Linked DNA regions of Homo sapiens: region 1 is linked to region 2. Evidence: promoter capture Hi-C in 16 types of primary human blood cells and fetal thymus (Javierre and others, 2016). All regions are on one chromosome and are shown on one strand. The core of a region is centred on a gene start or on the middle of the fragment in contact, and the rest is flanking DNA. Distances in the headings are between cores, read along the strand shown.

Evidence for each region. Contacts are between HindIII fragments. The CHiCAGO score rates a contact against its expected background, and 5 or more counts as called.
Region 1: a fragment that was not itself captured here is called in contact with the fragment with the promoter of LRP2BP in region 2 in 2 of 17 cell types (fetal thymus and naive CD4 T cells); the score reaches 9.7 in fetal thymus.

The regions. Positions count from the first base shown.
Region 1 is chr4:183,448,253-183,451,589 of GRCh38, forward strand. CDKN2AIP (CDKN2A interacting protein) reads left to right here. Exons shown (of 3, transcript NM_017632.4): 3 at 1-812. Among named protein-coding and RNA genes, the nearest start is that of CDKN2AIP, 5.3 kb to the left of the region's middle. The HindIII fragment of the contact is 4,907 bases long and covers 1-3,337 here.
Region 2 is chr4:185,394,309-185,397,472 of GRCh38, forward strand. LRP2BP (LRP2 binding protein) reads right to left here and starts at 1,616. Exons shown (of 9, transcript NM_001377440.1): 1 at 471-1,616. It overlaps ANKRD37 (ankyrin repeat domain 37), which reads left to right and starts at 2,533. Exons shown (of 5, transcript NM_181726.4): 1 at 2,533-2,642; 2 at 2,842-2,994. The coding sequence starts at 2,616. RefSeq lists silencers at 1,739-1,928, 2,149-2,518 and an enhancer at 2,049-2,118. The HindIII fragment of the contact is 1,591 bases long and covers 1,098-2,688 here.

The DNA of each region.
Region 1 (3,337 bases), core at 800-3,299, 1.9 Mb before region 2:
ACTTGTCATTATAAATTAGACAACCAGGTAATTGTGTGATATACATCTTTATTTAATTTTTTTTTTTACAGCAATCCCCTGAGCCAGAATAGATTAAAAGCGATTCCCTTCAATTTTCAAATCTAGAACTGGATGGTTTTTGTGTTTATGCATCTTTTAGAATACCGGAAAGAACAGAGAGCCGTGTTCAGCTCTTGATAATGAGCCTATTCAATTTAACTACATTCGTTAAAATGAAGTGGAATTTTGTTTTCGTCTTAGGTGATTCTGCCTGTTTGTCTGTCATTGTATATTCTGTTTACTTTGCTTCAAACTGGCCCCAAGATGTTATTTTTGTGGTTTCTGGCTTTCTAGATTCTATTTTTAGATACTGCCCATTGAGCAATAATGGTGATAATATAGAGAGAAAAGAAAGACCTTTCATGGGCCAGTTGTGTTGGAATAGGAAAATCAAACGTAAGCACAATTTAAGTATGTAGCAGTTATTCCTATTTTGTATTCTAGGAATAAAAAGATACTTTAATTTTTTATGCTAGAATTACATAATTACATAATCAGATGTTTTAATTTTACCATATAACCTTTAAAAATGATTCATTTTTGAGGATATTTAATTGGATACCAAAGCTAAAATCCATATACTGTAAGTGGGTTGCCTTTATAGATTGCGGGACACAATAACATGAATGTATTGTGAAAGCACTTTTAGTTACCTCACTTTCCTCAGTCTTGGAATGTGTATTTTGTGGGATAATGATTATCAGAAAAGCAAAAAATTACAACGAACAAATAAATTTATATAATATATCCAATTAGGTGGTTTGGTAATTTCCTAAATTGGCTTGTTTCAAGTTACTATGAAGGTTATTGAGAATGTTTTATAGTGACTTTTGATGTGGAGGAAGTTGTTTAGTGTACATTTATGATAATCCTATTTAAAAACCTAGAAAAATGCTCTTGGTTAATAACATTTAAAGAATCCTGGTTTAAGAGAAATGCATATTTTAGAATTCTATTATTGAGAGTGAATCTTGGCTGTCTCTTACTAGACATGTAACCTCTGGGAATTTAACCTTTTAACCTTACTTCGTCTGTGAAATAGGACTAATAGCTGTCTCATAGAGCATGGCAGTTAGATGAGATGATACATTCAAAGTGCCCGGCATGGTGCAGATATCCCATGGTTCACTTATATATTCTTATTCCTCTTACAAGGAGCTCTTCTCATTTGGCCTACTTTTCAGATGGAGAAACTTACACAGAGTAATTCGGTCAGATAATTCAAGCCCATATCTGATTTCAAAACCCAAGCTCAAGTATGTTGTACTGCTTATTATCCTTGTCACTTCTCTATATGCTGAAATTTCTGAAAATCCCTCCCAGAACGTGATTTTTTACCAGATTAAGTGACCGCATCTTTCTAAAGCCTCCTTGAAATGAGTCACTTCAGAGGCTCTTCTATTATTAATGCTTCTAATACTTGCATATCTTGAATATCCTCAACTAGTGAATCATCCCATATGGATGCAGTTGAACTTTGTAAAAAGACCATACACACACAAAAGAAATCTGCACAAAAAACCCCCCAAAACCAAAAAACCAAACACACCTGCCTAAAATAGTGTATAATCAAGTTGAGTGAATAAAGTCGGCTACCAAGATGGGATATACTGCTTTTTTCAGATGAGTGAGGGGAGACGATTTCCTGAGACATCAAGATTTTTCTTGATGTTAGAATGAGATTTTTTTTTTAATGGTAAAATTAGTTGACTTGTAAGAATGATACTGTCATGAGTTTTTGACCTAAATTCTTGGAGCCTGTCACTGCTGTCATTGGCTAGGATAATTGTCATAGGGATATGTGTAACTTTAAGGCCTTTGATATGTATTATCAGGAGCCTGCTCCAATTTGAATTATGTTTTCCCTGCCAAGTGCAGCTTTTCTTGGTACAAATTTCTACTTGCTGTTTAGATTTTTGAGTAACAGCAGTGAGAAAGTAACAAAAACAAGCCGCAATTGGGAATCAGGTCAGTCCTACAGGTATTGTGTTACTACTTTGTGGACTTTGTCCTCAAAAATTGTGCTGAAGTCCTATATTGACCTACTTTCTAGACATTGGTTATCCATTCCTGCATGATTTTTAAATAATATTTTCTGTGATTGATGAATAAACTATTTCACTTTCTACTAGAACAAAATGTTCAAGTTGAATGAAGGGTTAAGCCATTTATTGCCCAACTATTCCTCCCCAAGAAAAATATCAATCATATTTCTTTGGCATCCCTGCACACAGCTTAGTTGCCATCCAGTTAGAACCATTTCTTACTACCAACTTTAATTTTAATATCTCTCGATTTTCCTCCTTTTGTTTTTGTTTTGTTTTTTTGTTTGTTTTTTTTTTGAGACAGAGGGAGTCTTGCTCTGTCACCCAGGCTGGAGTGCAGTGGCGTGATCTCGGCTCACTGCAACCTCGGCCTCTTGGGGTCAAGCAATTCTCCTGCCTCAGCCTCCTGAGTAGCTGGGATTACAGGCGTGCATCACTACACCCAGCTAATTTTTTTGTATTTTTAGTAGAGACGGGGTTTCACCATGTTGGTCAGGTTGGTCTCGAACTCCTGATCTTGTGATCCACCTGCCTCAGCCTCCCAAATTGCTGGGATTACAGGCGTGAGCCACTGTGCCCAGCCGATTTTTCTCCTTTAAAAGTCATTATCTGAAAATTATTAGTTTTTAAAGTTCTTTTTCTGTTCCTTTGCTATTCATCTAGCAAGAAAAAGAGTAGACAAGGCCCCAAACTAAATGGACTTTTAACTTTGAAGGGAAAAAAGAAAAGTAATGCTAGGTTGGGCATGGTGGCCCACAACTGTAATGCCAGCACTTTGGGAGGCCAAGGCAGGCGGATCACCTGAAGTCAGGAGTTTGAGACCAGCCTGGCCAAAATGGTGAAACTTTATCTTATAAAACTACAACATTAGCTGGGCGTGGTGGTGCGTGCCTGTCACCCCAGCTACTTGGGAGGCTGAGATAGGAGAATCGCTTGAACCTGGGAGGTGGAGGTTGCAGTGAGCTATGATTGTGCCACTGCACTCCAGCCTGGGTGACAGAGTGAGACTCCGTGTCAAAAAAAAAAAAAAAGTAATACTAAACACAAAGGGTTGGATACAGGACATTTTGAGTAAAAACTAGAGATTACATATGCCAGTACTTAAGAAGCAATCAGAAATACTTTGTGAATTTGAAACTTTATTGAATAGAATCAGAATCCTTGGAGGTCTTAGGAAGCAACCAAACTAAACAATATAAGTAGTAAATACACTAAAGACTACCATTTTACTG
Region 2 (3,164 bases), core at 366-2,865:
ACCAATCTTAGCCTGAATTGACCAGAGGTGACCAAAATTATTTAAAACACATAGGTATAAGAATGTGGGCTCTGGAGTCAAACTGACTTCAAATTCCTGATTTACCTGCTAATAATTACATGACAAGTTAATGGATCTCCCTAAGCCTCAATTTCCTCTTCTGTAAAATGCAGATAATACCTATGAGCGTTAGTCTTGAGGCACAAGTGCTCAATTAATGTCAATTTGTAATATAATAAACTGGAATAGACGTTAGTGGTTAATACTTTCTCATTTGTCGGCCTTTCTCTATTTCACATCACAGCTGCATGTGTATCACACACTGCCCCCAGACTGAACTACATATAGTGCTCTCAATACTGGAAGATATTTTACACTTCTTAGAAATACTCTTCCCTTCCTGGACTCCTTAGCAAACTCTTACTACTCAAGATTCAGCCCACACATCTCTCATCTATTCGGTCACTTACTCATCATCCAACGTTTTTTTTAACACTCGCTGTAAATGGCATCCTCGTTCTGGAAACGCATCTACCAGCAATTAAAACATGTAGAATTAGCACTGCTTAGGAGAACGCCTATAAAATATGCATCTTAGATCATCTTCCGTTTTAGAAAATTGATCCCACCTGCTACACGCCTGGTGAAACTCCAGTTACTTGCCAGTAAGATATTGTCCCCCAAATGTACTTATCCTGTTTTTGTGCATTATAAGCTTTGTTCAGTTTATAGTTTCTAGGCCCATTACTAAAGTCAAGTCAGATATCCAGCTGAGATACAACTTTTTTTTCTGAAAACAATGTGAGCAATGGACAGGTACGCTGTGATTAAAGGGAGAAAAGCTGTAACGACTCCCCAAATTTCCTTTCCTTATGAAATTTACGTATGTAACAGGAAGTTAAAAAATAACTACCACTTAATGCATACTGAACAGAATCTTGTTTCAAAGAAAAGATATGAAATATGGAGGCACTTTCACCACACAAATATCCCACTACATATGCTAACTGCAGTATTTATGTTCAAAACTGTAAGAACGTGTCTGATACCCTTTATTAGTTAGGAATTCCTGAAAATGAACTTCTGTGCAAACCTGAAGCTTCAACACGTGTTTTAAAAAGCAGTGCTTATTGAATTGATAAACAAAAGCGAAACTGGCAATATCAACGTGTGCTCACCTCACAAATCTGACAACAGTATCTCTACACTGCCGTTCTTTAAACATCATTAAAAGATATTGTGAATAGTTTAAATATTAAAAATGTGGAATATAAGAACGATTCTATATATTTGAACACACATTTATATTCAAATATTCATATGAATAAAAATGCTTAAAACTACCCCTTGGGTAACTAAGTATAACAACATAAACTTGCGATTGCAAATTTTATGGCTCTTACTACAAAACAAAAAGTAGAATGAAAAGACCACTTATCTTTAGAGGACAAGCATGAACTTGTTTTCTAACAGCATAACAATAAACGTATTTATTTCTCCGAGCTTTCAAAGGCATCAACAGAAGGGAATCACTAAAAATGTAGGGGAAAAGAAACACTCGGCTGGAGCTTTGGTTTCTAAGCAGATCCTTCTGGAAAGACGCTTAGGGAGAGTCTAGGGAGCAGCTCTGACGTCAGTAGCTGCCATCGGAAGTCAGGTCATGTTCTACAAAAAGCAGTGACGCACGCCCGACAGCACCCGCGGGGCCGGACAGCGGCTTCACCAGCCCCGCGGGTCCGAATCGCACGCGGCCGGGTCCGCTCTCCCGGGAGGAGAGCCCGGCGTGGACCAGCGTGACGACCCCAGCGTGCTGCGGCCTCTCCCCGAGGGCCCCTCCACAAGGGTCCCTGCGCGGGCCGGGCTCGGCCGTTGCCACTCGGGACAGCCATCCCCTCGAGTTCGCGCTCGCCGTCCCCGCCTTCACCTCCCGGGTTGGGAGGCGGGCGACTGCGCGCGAGGTAAAGGAACTTGCGTTCCCCGGCGCCGAGGCGGCAGCAGCGCAGTGCACAGCGGCTTCTGAAGGCGGCGTCGACGGGGAGCTGCGCGTGGCTCCCAGTTTCCTGGTTACGTGCGCGCCGGCAGAGCCAAAACCTGCAGCCGAAACTCCCGCTTCTCCGTAAGGATTAAAGGGCGGGCGCACTACCGGGAGACGTGTCAAACTCAGCGCGCCTCATGGCGGCCGCGGAGCCCCACCCGCTCCTACTCCAGTCCTCTCACGCCCACTGACTTACCCTGCGCACGCGCGCTGAGGCTCCGTGGGGCCGCCGCGGGCCCCGCCCCGAGGTGGGAGGGCCTGACGCATCCACAGCTGGCCAATCGGCGGATGGCCTCGCGCGCCCGCCCCCTCCCCCTGCCCCCGGCGCCGGGCTCCACGTGCCAGTGTTTGTGTACGTGCGGCCGTGGCGGGGCTGGACAGGGTCCGGGTCGTTGAGGATTAGGCTGCTCGGGCGTAACCGGAGCTGGGGCGCGGCTGCCAAGGGCCGGCCCGGAAGTCCCAGCGGTCTTTAAATTCTCCCGTGCTAGGGCCAGCCTGCGCATTCTTACCTGTCGGGGTGCGGCGAGTGTCTCACCTCTCTGCACTTCCAAGGACTCTTGTCATCTGCCTTAGGCGGGAAATGCTGTTGCTGGATTGCAACCCCGAGGTGAGATTCGGGCTCACAGAGCCCGAGCTTTTGTCCTGCAGGCTCAAGCTTCTAGATTCGTCTTCTCGTTAATGCGGGGACGGACCACTGGGCGCTGCCTGGTCAGAGCTGGTTGTGAAGGGCGGGGAGGTTTCCAGCCCGGAGGGGCGCGGGACTGGACAAAGGTGGGAAGGGTGCTGGATCTGTTCTCTTCCTGCAGGTGGATGGTCTGAAGCATTTGCTGGAGACAGGGGCCTCGGTCAACGCACCCCCGGATCCCTGCAAGCAGTCGCCTGTCCACTTAGCCGCAGGAAGCGGCCTTGCTTGCTTTCTTCTCTGGCAGCTGCAAACGGGCGCTGACCTCAACCAGCAGGTAACTAGGTAACTGTTGCTGTGTACAGCCGTCCCCTCCAACCCAGACACACACAAACATTTCTCAGACGCCAAGAGTTGTTTCAGCTGTTAAAAACATGTCTATAGCAGCGATGTCCAACAGAAATATAATGCAAGACACAGATGTAATTTAAGAGTTTTTTTCCAGTC